5 separate regions of the Homo sapiens genome follow, and regions 2, 3, 4 and 5 are each linked to region 1. Evidence: promoter capture Hi-C in 16 types of primary human blood cells and fetal thymus (Javierre and others, 2016). All regions are on one chromosome and are shown on one strand. Each heading gives the region's core, a stretch centred on a gene start or on the middle of the fragment in contact. The rest is flanking DNA. Distances are from core to core; before and after follow the strand shown. Region 1 holds the start of MYH11 (myosin heavy chain 11). Region 2 overlaps ABCC1 (ATP binding cassette subfamily C member 1 (ABCC1 blood group)). Region 3 overlaps ABCC1 (ATP binding cassette subfamily C member 1 (ABCC1 blood group)). Region 4 overlaps ABCC1 (ATP binding cassette subfamily C member 1 (ABCC1 blood group)). Region 5 overlaps ABCC1 (ATP binding cassette subfamily C member 1 (ABCC1 blood group)).

Region 1 (2,679 bases), core at 109-2,608:
CCGCTCCCGCCGCTCCCGGGGAGGGGGACCGGCCCGGCCCGGCCCGGCCCGGGAACCTCGGAGGAGCTGGTGCCGCGCGGGGAGCGGAGCGCCCGGGCTGCCCGCGGGTCCCCGGCCTGGCGCGGGGCCAGCCCACCGCCTCGACTTCCTTTTATGGCCTGTGTGTGCGTGCGTGGACAGGAGCGGGGAGGGAGGGACGGGGAGAAGACGGAGAGCCTGGGGAAGAGAGAGAGAGAAAGCGCAGAGATAGGAGTGAGACACGCGGGAGAGATGGAGAGCAAGAGACACAGAGACCAGAGACAAAGTGAGACAGGAGGGAGAGACAGATACATCGACAGATCTAGAGAAGCGAGAGGGACAGAGACAAAAGATAGAGCGAGAGACAGCAATGATCAGAGTGACAGACATGCAGAGACAGTGGCAGAGACAGAGCGAGAGAGCCTGTGATGGAGAGAGACAGGGAATGCAATTTTAGGCGAGGAATCCTTGGGGAAGGGAAGTTGTTGAAGGGAACTCGCAGACTCTGGGGGCACACCCACTTTCTCCTTGGATCTTGACACTTGCATCTTGTAAATAACGTAATTATCACCGCCACCGCCTTCCCCCATTTTGTAGCTATGGACACCAAGTCTCAGAGAAGTGAAGTGACTTGCCCAAGGTCACGCAGCTGGCGAGTGGCGCACAGGGGAGGGGGACAGCTGAAATAATCACAGTGGGCTTATTTTTAATTTTTATTTGTATTTTGGTCGTGGTGATGTGGGTGGAGGTGGAGATGGCAAGTTGGGAAAAGTAAAAACTTCCCCTTCCTGCACGGTTCCCAGCAAGGGTGGGGGCCTCCTGTCTTGCACTTTGCAAAGTTCAAGAAATCCCCTTTCCCTACCCTTCACGCTGCACAGCCGGCCCTCTTTCCAGACAGTGCGATGCCAATAAAATGGGAAGTGGGGTGGGAGATGTCAAGTCAGATCCACCACAGCCCCGACACGGGGAGGAAGAGGTTAAAGCCTTTGCGGCCGGAACCGACTCAGGGAAGACGTTCTCAAGCATCCCGCACAGACACTGCCTGCTCGACCCCCTTTCTCTAGGGATCCGGAGCGTCTGCGACCGCCTGGGGCCGGGGCTGAGACTCCCGTCCCTGTGCGCACCTGTTCCGTGCGCCCTTGTGCGGTGCGCACCTGTTCCGTGCACCCTTGTCCCGAGCGCCCCAGCTCCTTGCGCTCCCGCCGGGGGTGCGCCCTGCAGGGGGCGCGGCGAGGGGGCCGCGAGGGACCCTCCCCAACTCCACCCCTTCGGCCTCCTCCCCTTTCCCAGCCGCGGGCAGCTCCGGGTCTATAAAGAGAGGCGTCCGAGGACGCGCAGGGAGATTTGGACGCTCCGGCCTGGGAGGTGCGTCAGATCCGAGCTCGCCATCCAGTTTCCTCTCCACTAGTCCCCCCAGTTGGAGATCTGTAAGTAGTAGTTGTCATTCTGGGGGCAGATTGCAGGGCAGGGGGGTGTTAAAAGTCCTATAGGGTATTCTATAGGGGCTGGGGTGCACTTAGGGGTCCCTGTTGTCAACCTCGTAAGGGCCATGGTGGGGGCAGAGTTGTGATTTGGATCTCTCTCTGCCTTATCGTCTTAGATTATCCTAGACTTTCCCCAAACAGCATTTCTTAAGATTGCCAGTGAGAAGTACCATTTTGGGGGTGCTTATTAACGATATCAATGCCTGGACCCAACTCCATTTCCCAACTCTAGAATCCCCAGAAAAACTGCCTTAAAAAAAAAAAAATTAGTCCCGAGTGATTCTTGTTAAGAGGCTAATCCAGGAGATATGCTCCCTTGGAAATCTCAGAGGTCCGGTGCAGACAATCAAGGCATCTCACTTTTATTCTAGGCACCAAAAAATTTACAGCTGAACTTCACTGAAAAGTCACTTGCTATCACACAGAAGGGCAAAGTGAGGCTCCTTGTGGATTTGACCGTATTGCACAGTTGTGTTGATAATGCATTAAATCAGTTAAAAACACATGGGCATAGGCTTAGCAGAAAGGAGTGTTGTTGTTTTTTTTTTTTAATCAGTTTAGGGGAGGTTCTTCTATGTTGAGAACCCCTGGGAGATAAGGCTGGTTGTGATCTAGTTTGTTACAGCCCACTTTTTCCTCTTCTCCAAATTAAAAAAAAAAAAAACAACTCACCCAGGTTGACCCCAAAGGGCCCCCAGATACCCAGGTGGGCTCCAAAGTCTCCATTTGCTTCCACGATCTGCAGGTGCGTTAGGTAAGATTACACTAGAATTTCCCGCAGAGCCACCTGTGTCAATGCCACTCTCGTGCCCAACCAAATGGGTAAAACGAGAGAAAGTGTGGCTACTGCCTGTTGTAAGTTTTCTTCCAGCACAGGGTCTGGTAGGGATTTTGCCACTTGAGAAAAGGTACCATCCAAAGCCATGCTTGTCAAGAAGTAAAAGAAAATATTTAGAAACCCAAGGTGGGAGTGTTTAGTTGCAGTATGAAGAACTGAGAGATTAAATGGTGAACTGTCCGTCCGGGGTTTGGCAAAAAGAATGCAGGCTATTAATAAACTGCTTTGCATAGTTTTTTGTTTCTTTGATTTACTCAACGATACTATTTTAGAATTGTTCAGAGACGGAACTTGACGCTGAACTGAAAGTCATTAGGTGGCAGGGTGTGAAATAAGATA
Region 2 (2,679 bases), core at 58-2,557, 200 kb before region 1:
TGGCCCGGAATTCCGAAAGTATTTACAGAAAAAGTTTCTTTACTCCTACTTTCTGCCAGTCTCTCTCGAAATTTAATGTGCATACACACCACCTAGAGAACTAGTTACAACTCAGATTCCGTTTCAGTGGATCTGGGCTGAGGCCTGAAATTCTGCACCGTTAACAAGCACCAGGTGATGCCATGGCTGCTGGTCCACGGACCAGACTTTAGGCAGTGAGGATCCACTCCGGTGTCTCTACATGTCAACCTGAACCAGAAGCAGCAGCACCTAGGGATATGTTAGGAAAGCAAATACTCAGGCCCCAACCAGACCTACTAAAACTGAAAATTTGGGTGGGGCCCAGAAAGCTGAGTTTTATAGTAACAAGCTAACAGCCAGCACTGTGGCTCATGCCTGTAATCCCAGCACTTTCGGAGGCCAAGGCGGGTAGATCTCCTGAGGTCAGGAGTTCGAGACCAGCCTGGCCAACATGGTGAAACACCATCTCTACACTAAAGATATTTTAAAAATTAGCTGAGCATGGTTGCTGCATGCCTGTAATCCCAGCTACTCAGAGGCTGAGGTGGAAGAATCGCTTGAACCCGGGAGGCAGAGATTGCAGTGAGCCAAGATAGTGCCATAGCAATCCAACCTGGGTGACAGACTGGGACTTCATCTCAATAAATGAATAAATAATAAAATATAATAACAAGCTCTCCAGGTGATTCTGATGCAGGCTTGAATTTGAACACCATCTCTCCTGCAGTTCCAGACCCTGAGAGAAGTAAGGCAAGACTAAGAAAATTCAGTGGGAGCATGAACACGCTTTCGCAAATGCTGAAACAGCTGGAGCTTCCTTAGACATTCCACCTGAAACTCAACAAAGATGAAGCAGATGGTAGTTTAACAGAAAAGTTCATATTCATAAACATGTTTAACTCTGCTTCACAGAAACTTGCCAGAAAAACATATAATTTGCCAACCTGACCAAGAAGGAATAGTTGTAATGAGCACAACATTACAAAAAGAATGACACAGTTAATAAAAAGACAGAAAGAAAAAACAAACATGGGGCATGATCTGAAGTCATCCTTCACCATTAACTGTTTTTAACTGTGCTTAAAAAGGGAATTTCCAAAGTCCATCTCTGTATGGTCTCCTGATTTGCGGCCAACTTTGCAAATTGTAAGTTGCACTGTTGTCTTTAAACTTTTCAAAGCCAGCTAGGCAGGGATAGACCCATTACCATACCCCAGGACAGGTACCAGAACTTTCAGTGTAGCATGGATCATAACAGCAAAAAAAACAGGGAACAACCTGTTTTTGCAAGGAATGGGAGAAAGGGTAATTCCAGCAGGGCGCATCTGCACGTCAGACAAGCATCCATCATGAACACAAATGAAACAAGCTGGGAGTGGTAGCAGTGCACCTGGAGTCCCAGCTACTTAGGAAACTAAAGCAGGAGGATTGCTTGGGCCCAGGAGTTCAAGGCTGCAGTGAGCTATGATCGCACCACAGTACTCCAGCCTGGGGGACAGAGCGAGACCCCATTTCAAAACAAAACCCCCCAAAAAACTAAAATGAAGTAGACCAGAATGAACGAACCAAGACTATATATTGTTAACCAAAGAAAAGAGAACACTATGTACAGTATGATTCCATTTATATCTGTCAAAGTATTTTTAAATACCTATATGCTTGTCCATTTTTCTCTAAAAGCGTACACGAAACTGTCACTTTAGAAGGGAGGAACTGATGGAAGAGAGGACAATATACTTTTCATTTTATATCTTTCTGTATTTTTTTTTTTTTACAATGGATGACAATATTTGTTCAGCACCTGCTATGCACTGTTTTATATACTGAGGATACAGCAGTCAAGAGAAACGACAAAAATGCCCATCTGGAGCTGACATCCTAGTGGGGGAAAAGCAGACAATAAAATAAGTACATTTTATTTTACTTATTTTTTTTTTTTTTTACTTTTTTGAGACAGGGTCTTGCTGTGTTGCCCAGGCTGGAGTGCCGTGGCTCGATCTCGGCTCACTGCAACCTCAGCCTCCCAGGTTCAAGGGATTCTCATGTCTCGGCCTCCTGAGTAGCTGGGAATATAGGCATGCACCACCATGCCCAGCTTTTTTTTTCTTTCTTTTTTTTTTTTTTTTTTAAGCAGTAACAGGGTTTCACCAGGTTGGCCAGGCTGGTCTCGAGCTCCTGGCCTCAAGTGATCTACCCACCTTGGACTCCCAAAGGGCTGGGATTACAGGCACAAGCCACCGCACCCAGCCCAAAATAAGTAAATTTTAGAGTGTGTTTAGACCATGCCACTTGACATGTGGCCTATGAGACACTGACAATCCACACTTTGTGACCAGTTGGTGACAAAATAAGGACGCAGCACCACAATGTAGATCAACTATGGCACCAAGCGTGCCGTTCGACTCAGCTCGCACTTTTTGTCTTGCAAGGCTATCTTAATGCAGGAAGCAGGGGGCACTGGTTTACATTCTGGCACAAGCTCCTTATATCACAGTAAATAGATAACGAACGGTTCCTACACAGGTTGGCTAGAAGCTGCTAAGTGTGAATAAAACAAAGGAGAATGGAGAAGATGGCAAATGTTTAAACCAAGTGTTCAGGGAAGGCCTTGCTGACATAGTGACTTTTTTGTTTGTTTTTGAGACAAGGTCTTGCTCT
Region 3 (2,679 bases), core at 104-2,603, 180 kb before region 1:
CCTTCTTCCAGTTCTTTACCAAAACAGGCACGACTTGTTCCGACGTGTCCTCCTTGTTTAAGGACCAGAGGTCACTGCCCTCCAGGGGCTGGCGGTAGCCCCGGACAATCAACCTGGGGCCAAGACACAAGGGGGTTAGGCAATGAGAGTCAATGACAGGAGGAGGGGGAGGACGGGGCTCACTCACTCCACACGCCTGCTGATGCTGCTCCCCTCTGCAGCACAGCTGCCCGCTGCAAATGAAGGCAGCCATGCAGCTTGGGAAGTCAGAATGCAGATGGACATTTGCATATATTACAAGCTAATTACAGCTCATTCTGTTGGGTCATGCAGGAAAAATGGCTTTTTTTTTTTTTAGTGGTGCATACAAAAGACTTAGGGAAAAAAAGATGATTTAGGAGCGAAGTATCAGGATAGCTCTTTTTTATTTTTTATTATTCGTTCATTCATTTATTTACTTGGAGAGAGGGTCTCGCTGTGTCACCCAGGATGGAGTACAGTGGTGCGATCGCAGCTCCCTGCAGCCTCCAGCTCCCGGTCTAGAGTGGTTCTCCCATCTCAACCTCCCGAGTAGCTGGGACTTTGGGTGTAAGCCATTATGACTGGCTAATTTTTTTTTTATTTTTTATTTTTGTAGAGACAAGAGTCTCCCTATGTTGCCCAAGCTGGTCTTGAACCCCCGGGCTCAAGCAACCCTCCCACCTTGGCCTCCCGAAGTCTTGGAATTATAGGCATAAGCCACCGTGCCCCGCCAACTTTTTAAAATTTTAAATTAAAAAAGGCTGATATGGGCCAGGCACGGTAGCTCATGTCTATAATCCTAGCGCTCTGGGAGGCCGAGGTGGGAGGATTTTGTGAGCCCTGGAGTTCAAGACCAGCCTGGACAACATAGGGAGACTATCTCTACGAAAAGTAAAAATAAAAAAATTAGCCAGTCATGATGGCTCGCACCTGTAGTCCCAGCTACTCGGGAGGCTGAGGTGGCAGGATTGCTCAAGGCCAGGAGGTGGAGGCTGCAAAGAGCCGTCATTGTGTCACTGCACTCCAGCCTGGGCAACAGAGTCAGACCCTATAAAAAGAAAAAAAAAAAAATAGGCTGAAGGAAAAAATTAAAAAATAAAAAGGCTGACATGACAAAGCATTAGTAAGCATGAAATCTGGGTGATGAGATTATTGAGTTTTATTATATTAATCTTTCTATGTCACTCCATCCAGGCTGGAGTGTAATGGCGCCATCTCAGTGCACTGCAACCTCTGCCTCCTGTATTCTAGCAATTCTCCTGCCTCACCCTCCCAAGTAGCTGGGATTACAGGCGTGTGCTGCCCGGCTAATTTTTGTATTGTTAGTGGAGACAGGGTTTCACCATGTAGGCCAGGCTGGTCTCGAACTCCTGACCTCAGGTGATCCACCCACCTTGGCCTCTGAAAGTGCTAACATTACAGGCATGAGCCACCGTGCCCAGCAGACTAAACACTTTTATAATAAAAGGTAAAATACTTTCATGTTTTGTTCTAAAATAATTTCAAACTTATAGAAAAATTACTCAAATCATACTAAGAATTCACTCAACTCACCATTGTTAACACGTTGCCACGTTTGCAGTATCATTCTCTGTCTGTATCCATTGACATGCACACACAAACACACACACACATGCAAACACATCATCTTTTTCTGAACCACTTAAACAGTTAAAGGGCTGGCATGGTGGCTCACACCTGTAATCTCAGCACCTTGGGAGGCTGACGTGGGTGGATCACCTGAAGTCAGGAGTTTGAGACCAGCCTGGACAACACAGTGAAACTCCATCTCTACTAAAAATACAAAAATTAGCTGGATGTGGTGGCAGGTCCCTGTAATCCCAGCTACTCAGGAGGCTGAGACAGGAGAATCTCTTGAACCCAGGAAGCAGAGGTTGCAGAGAGCTGAGGTCCTGCCACTGCACTGCACCCTGGATGACAGAGCAAGACTCCATCTCAAAAAAAAAAAAAAAAAAAAAAAAAGTTAACATACAGCCTCTACATGCCTTTACCCAAGAAAAACTGGAGGTATTCTCTTCCAATCCAGGACATGCTCTTATGTAACTAGAGCACAATTTTCCAAAACAAGAATGAATGTTATTAGCATGCATCCGGGGTCCTGTAGTCATGAACAAATTACATCAACTGTCCCAGTGATGCTTTTTAATAGTAACTTGAAGAAATTATTTAAAACATCTAATTTTTTAAAACGATGTTTGTCATTAAGACAAGGATGAGACCGGGCATGGTGGTTCACGCCTGTAATCCCAGCACTCTGGAGGCTGAGGCGGGAGAATCACTTGAGCTCAGAAGCTGGAGACCAGCCTGGGCAACATGATGAAACCCCATCTCTACAGAAAGTACAAAAATCTGCTGGGCATGGGGGAGTGTGCCTGTAGCCCCAGCTACTCAGGAGGCTGAGGCAGGAGCATCACCTAAGCCCAGTAGATTGGGACTGCAGTGAGCTACAAGTGTGCCGCTGCACTCCAGCCTCAGCGACAGAGCGAAAGCCTGTCTCAAAAAAAAAAAAAAAAAAAAAAGATGATGCTTATTAGGGGCAAAAAAAGATTCTTCAAACAATCCCCACTAAGATGTTAACAACGGGCAGAAAAAGATATACAAAAAGAGGACCAGAAGGTAGCTGGGCATGGTGGCTCA
Region 4 (2,679 bases), core at 111-2,610, 160 kb before region 1:
AAAACCCAAACAGCTCATCTGGCTCACAAGGGGGCTGTCCCACCTCTCAGGCACCCACTGTCTCTTAGCCTTCTCCTGCTGTGCTGGCTTTTCTTGCTGTTCTCTCCACACCTCCCCACCCCAGGGCCCTTGTACTTATTCCCCTCTGCCTGGAACACTCTTCCTCTAGGTGTTTGCTCCACCCACTACCTCACCCCTCTAGGTCTCCGCTCACATGCAGTTTTCTGGGCAGGCCTTCCCAGATCTCTCTTATCAAAAGCTGCACATGAGCCTGGGCAACACAGCAAGATCCCATCTCTATTTAAAAAAATAAAGAATAGGCGAGGCGTGGTGACTCACACCTGTAATCCCAGCACTTTGAGAGGCCAAGGCAAGAGGATCGCTTGAGCCCAGGGGTTTGAGACCATCTCCCCATCTTTAATTATTAATTAATTAAAAGTAAGCCAAGTTGGGGAGCAGGTGTAGGGAGAACATCAGGAGGAATAGCTAATGGATCCTGGGCTTGATTCCTAGATGATGGGTTGATCTGTGCAGCAAATCACCATGGCACACATCTACCTATGTAACGAACTTGCACATCCTGTACCTATACCCTGGAACTTAAAATAAAAGTTGAAGAAAGAAAAAAAATTAGCCAGGCATGGTGGTGTGTGCCTGTAATTCCAGCTACTCAGAAAGCTGAGGTAGGAAGATTGCTTGAGCCCAGGAGGTCAAGACTACAGTGAGCCGAGATCACACCACTGCACTCCAGCCTAGGCAACAGAGCAAAACCCTGTCTCAAAAAAAAGAAGAAAAGAATTAAGGGAAATTAATAAAGTGTTCCCTTTTGTTCTACTAGCAGAAACGGTGGCCATCTCTACACTCCTCACTGATAAGTTTCCATATTTACAGAATTTCTCTGAAACTGACAAAATAGACCAAGGATCTCACACTCAAATCCCTCAGGGGCCAGGCATTTGCCACAAGTGAGGAAAGCATGCCAGTATAATACAACAGGGAGTGCCGGGGACTCCAGCAACTCCTCAGCTCTGCCCTGTAGGATTATAGGCCTAATCTGTCAGAACTTTACTTTTCCAGAACATCTGGACAGCTAGAATTCATAAAAAATACCTGATTTGTAATTATCTGCTCACATTTTCCAAAATCACCATGCCAAGTGAGAAACCTACAGGCCTGCAAGACAGCAGTTCATCAATGACAAAGCAGATTCTCTCCTTCAGCTCCCCCAGCCACATCTAAGCCTCAGTTTTTCCATCTGTAAAGTAGGTGGGATGATATTCCCTGTATCAGGGGTTGAGGGAGGCTGGAACGAGATCCTGGATGGATCTAAGAAATGTTAGCTGGTACTGTGTCACGCATCTCTCTCACACACACACGCACACACACTCATCTGTGGTCACACTTACAGGGTCGTGGATGGTTTCCGAGAACAGGGGTGAGCGATCTGAGAAACAGGACAAGACGAGCTGAATGAGTAAGAGGGAAAAGTAGACGTAGAAAGTGATGTCACGAAACAGGTCCACCTGGGCATCCTACATGGTGGGGAAGGAAGGAAGAAAAAGATCACATTCTGGGGCTGGGTGTGGTGGCTCACGCCTGTAATCCTAGCACTTTTGGAGGCCGAGACAGGCAGAACACCTGAGGTCAAGAGTTGGAGACCATCCTGGTCAACATGGTGAAACCCCGTCTCTACTAAAAATACAAAAATTGGCCAGACGTGGTGGTGGGCAACTGTAATCCCAGCTACTCGGGAGGCTGAGACAGGAGAATCACTTGAACCCAGGAGGCGGAGGCTGCAGTGAGCCGAGATCACGCCACTGCATTCCAGCCTGTGTGACAGAGCAAAACTCCATCTCAAAAAAAAAAAAAAAAAAAAAACCAAGATCACATTCTGAGAGCAGGTGGCAGAAACCCACTCAGCCACAGGGACACTGCAGGCTCCCCAGGGGCTCCCAGCTCCCCCCGGGATGTAATGGCAGAAAGCCGGCTCCATCACGGGTAGTCTCACTGCTCACCGCTGCCTGATGGGAGGAAGACAGGGCTTGGGAGTGAAACAGAGCTGTATCAAGGCCTGGCTCTCTCACACTGGCTGTGGGATCTTGTCAACTTATTTAACCTTTCTGTGCCTCAGATTCCCCACCTATAAACCACCGGTGGTTCTTAACCAGGGGTGATTCTGCCTCCCAGGAAACATCTGGCAGTGTCTGGGGATATCTTCTTTGTGGTAACTTGGGAGTGTTATGGCACCCAGTCAGGGGAAGCCAGGGACACCCCTAAATGTCTACAAAGCACAGGACAGCCCCTACAACCAACGAGTCTCCAATCCAAAATGTCGATTAGTGCTGAGGCTGAGAAATTCTGTCCAAGTCACTGCAAGAGGTCAGGAAGATTATTCGTGACACATACACAGTCCCCTGCGAGGCACTTTGAAAACATGAACTCAATCAGCATCAGCTGCTATCACTCATAATAATATGTAGGCAATCAATAGTCAAATGTTCAGCTTCTTTTCCTTCCTTTGCCTCATGCCAGTCTCTAATTAGCTCCAAGATGGCAGGAACAGCAGGTTATTCCAAAAGCACACACTCCAGGTCAGGCGTGGTGGCTCACGCCTGTAATCCCAACACTTTGGGAGGCCGAGGCGGGTGGATCACGAAGTCAAGTGATCGACACCATCCT
Region 5 (2,679 bases), core at 124-2,623, 140 kb before region 1:
CAGAGATAAGAAGTCTAAAGGACAAAGAAAAGTTGTCCTTTCAAGCAAGAAAGTAAGCTACAGAAGAAACCAGAGAGCATTTAAGGACACCGGAACTCCAGGGAAGGAGAGGTCAGGAAACGCTGAGCAAAGGAAGGTGTTTCCCCTGCAGAAAGCAAATTGAAGAGCACAGGCTAGCTTCCTGCTCAGAGCCAGATGGCCAGCCCAGACCCAAAGGGCGGCTGTGGGAGGGAGCAGAAGGAAGGGAAGGAAGGCATGACGAGAGGAAATCTGACTCTGACCATGAACTATGACTGTTACAGAAAGCAGCCAACACGGGTCACCCCTGCCATCCACCCCCACATCACCTCCATCACAGCCCCTACAGCGGCCAACAGCATAGGTCACAAAGCTAAGATCATCTGAGGACCGGGCACAGTGGCTCACGCCTGTAAACCCAGCACTTTGGGAGGCTGAGGCGGGAGGATTGCTTGAGCTCAGGAGTTCAAGAAAAGCCTGGGCAACAAAGTAAGACCCTGTCTTCACCAAAAAAATTTAAAAATTATCCAGGCGTGGTAGTGCAGGCCTGTAGTCCCACCTACTCAGAAGGCTGAAGTGGGAGGATCTTTTGAGCCTAGGGGCTTGAGGCTGCAGTGAGCTTTGATCGTCCCACCCAGGCACTCCAGCCTGGGTGACAGAGTAAGAGACTGTCTCAAAGAAACAAAGTATCGGGACTGGGCGCAGTGGGTCACACCTGAAATCCCAGCACTTTGGGAGGCTGAGGAGGGCAGATCACTTGAGGCCAGGAGTTCAAGACCAGCCTGGCCAACATAGTGAAACCCCATCTCTACTGAAAAAGAAAAAAAAAATACATTAGCCAGCCATGGTGGCAAATGCCTGTAATCCCAGCTAGTCGGGCAGCTGAGGCACAAGAATCGCTTAAACCCAGGAGGTGGAGGTTGCAGTGAGCAGAGATCAGGTCATTGTCCTCCAGCCTGGGTGACAGAGCGAGACTCTGTCTCAGGGAAAAAAAAAAAAAAAAAAAAAAGGTATCGAGGCCTCCTGGATGTTCCTTACCGGCAGGGACCCTAATGTGTCCTTCTTTACTTTAACAACTCCAGGAGGTAAGAAGTGCGACTCTCACTACTGGAGGCTTCTGGGAAAAACGGTGAATAATGGGCAATACCTAAAGGCTCAAGGAAGGGACGATTCCCTGGCAGTCTGCAGGCCACTTGCTGTTCCCAACTCAAAGAATCACAGCTACCCGAGGCTGCTTCCTAATCTAGGGAAATCCAGCCAGGCCCACCACGCTCTGAGCAGAATCAGAAGGACCCAACTCTCCAGACACACAATTCAGCCACAAGAGATGAGTCCTGAACACGGTCACCGGTCACTGCACTGGCCCAGGGCCTGCCCTTTGGGGAACCTGGCCCACAGAAATCTTTACAGAGAAAGCGCAAGTCGGCTGGGCGCGGTGGCTCACGCCTATAATCCTAGCACTTTCAGAGGCCAAGGCAGGTGGATCACGAGGTCAGGAGATCAAGACCATCCTGGCTAACATGGTGAAACCCCGTCTCTACTAAAAATACAAAAAAATTCACCAGGCGTGGTGGCACAGGCCTGAGTCCCGGCTACGTGAGAGGCTGAGACAGGAGAATCGCTTGAACCCAGGAGGCAGAGGTTGCAGTGAGCCGAGATTGCACCACTGCACTCCAGCCTGGGCGATAGAGCGAGACTCCGTCTCAAAAAAAAAAAAAAAAGAGAAAGCGCATGTCCTCCCCAGCTCCCGGCTCCCTCCAACAGAGGCTTCTCCTTGCTGGACACTTCACCAGCTTGATCAAGTTGTGTCTCCATGCCCTCAGCCCTGACACTCAAAGAGTTGGGGACCCCGTCCAAGTCCGAGTGGCCCCTGACCTTTGTGTGTTCATAAAATTCCTGTTGCATAGCGTCATGTTTTCTGGGCTGAATGATGATGACTAAGGCACTAGGCATTGATCTAAGTCTTCCCATACAAGATCCTGGTGCTGACCTCCTTTCTGTACATGACCCTGGCCTTGACCTGCCTTCCTGGTTCAGCCCTGATTATCATGGAAGTCCTCGTGCACCGGGCAGCTCACTAACTTTGCCCTACACCCTTACTGCTCCCATCTGGATGGCACAGGTTCTGCACAGATGCTCCACCAGGGCCTGCAGGGATAAGGCAAGCAGGCCTGCAGGGATAACGCATGCAGCCCTGCCAGGGACCCAGCCAGCCAACTCCAGGACAGGAGGGAAGGCCACAGAGAGGATGGGGCAGACAACAGGCAGAAAAAGTGATTATGAATCTCAACTGCCACTGATGGGAGGTAATGAGGACATACTGTGTACCACAAGTTCCACTGAGGCCTGAGCATCCACTCCCAATTCAACCATCTCAATAACTCACAACCAGCTGGGTGCAGTGGCTCATGCCTATATTTCCCAGCACTTGAAGAGGCAGAGGCAGGAGGATAGTTTGAGGCCAGGAATTTCAGATCAGCTTGGGCAACACAGTGAGACTGTATCTCTACAAAAAAATTTAAAAACTTAGCTGGCCGGGTGGAGGGGTTCACGCCTGTAATCCCAGCACTTTGGGAGGCTGAGGCGGGCGGATCATGAGGTCAGGAGTTCGAGACCAGCCTGGCCAACATAGTGAAACCCTCTCTCTACTAAATGTACAAA

Evidence for each region. Contacts are between HindIII fragments. The CHiCAGO score rates a contact against its expected background, and 5 or more counts as called.
Region 2: a fragment that was not itself captured here is called in contact with the fragment with the promoter of MYH11 in region 1 in 10 of 17 cell types (endothelial precursors, megakaryocytes, erythroblasts and 7 more); the score reaches 10.2 in endothelial precursors.
Region 3: a contact is called between a fragment that was not itself captured here and the fragment with the promoter of MYH11 in region 1, in 16 of 17 cell types (M1 macrophages, megakaryocytes, M2 macrophages and 13 more). The highest score is 15.0, in M1 macrophages.
Region 4: a fragment that was not itself captured here is called in contact with the fragment with the promoter of MYH11 in region 1 in 7 of 17 cell types (megakaryocytes, M0 macrophages, M1 macrophages and 4 more); the score reaches 7.1 in megakaryocytes.
Region 5: a contact is called between a fragment that was not itself captured here and the fragment with the promoter of MYH11 in region 1, in 2 of 17 cell types (megakaryocytes and erythroblasts). The highest score is 6.4, in megakaryocytes.

What each region holds. Positions count from the first base shown.
Region 1 is chr16:15,855,707-15,858,385 of GRCh38, reverse strand. MYH11 (myosin heavy chain 11) reads left to right here and starts at 1,358. Exons shown (of 41, transcript NM_002474.3): 1 at 1,358-1,445. RefSeq lists an enhancer at 1-312. The HindIII fragment of the contact is 5,018 bases long and covers 1-2,679 here.
Region 2 is chr16:16,056,651-16,059,329 of GRCh38, reverse strand. The region is part of intron 12 of ABCC1 (ATP binding cassette subfamily C member 1 (ABCC1 blood group)); the gene reads right to left. Among named protein-coding and RNA genes, the nearest start is that of ABCC1, 110 kb to the right of the region's middle. The HindIII fragment of the contact is 3,716 bases long and covers 1-2,679 here.
Region 3 is chr16:16,033,906-16,036,584 of GRCh38, reverse strand. ABCC1 (ATP binding cassette subfamily C member 1 (ABCC1 blood group)) reads right to left here. Exons shown (of 31, transcript NM_004996.4): 7 at 1-113. Among named protein-coding and RNA genes, the nearest start is that of ABCC1, 86 kb to the right of the region's middle. The HindIII fragment of the contact is 7,809 bases long and covers 1-2,679 here.
Region 4 is chr16:16,015,349-16,018,027 of GRCh38, reverse strand. ABCC1 (ATP binding cassette subfamily C member 1 (ABCC1 blood group)) reads right to left here. Exons shown (of 31, transcript NM_004996.4): 5 at 1,407-1,532. Among named protein-coding and RNA genes, the nearest start is that of ABCC1, 67 kb to the right of the region's middle. The HindIII fragment of the contact is 5,742 bases long and covers 1-2,679 here.
Region 5 is chr16:15,996,154-15,998,832 of GRCh38, reverse strand. The region is part of intron 1 of ABCC1 (ATP binding cassette subfamily C member 1 (ABCC1 blood group)); the gene reads right to left. Among named protein-coding and RNA genes, the nearest start is that of ABCC1, 48 kb to the right of the region's middle. The HindIII fragment of the contact is 6,033 bases long and covers 1-2,679 here.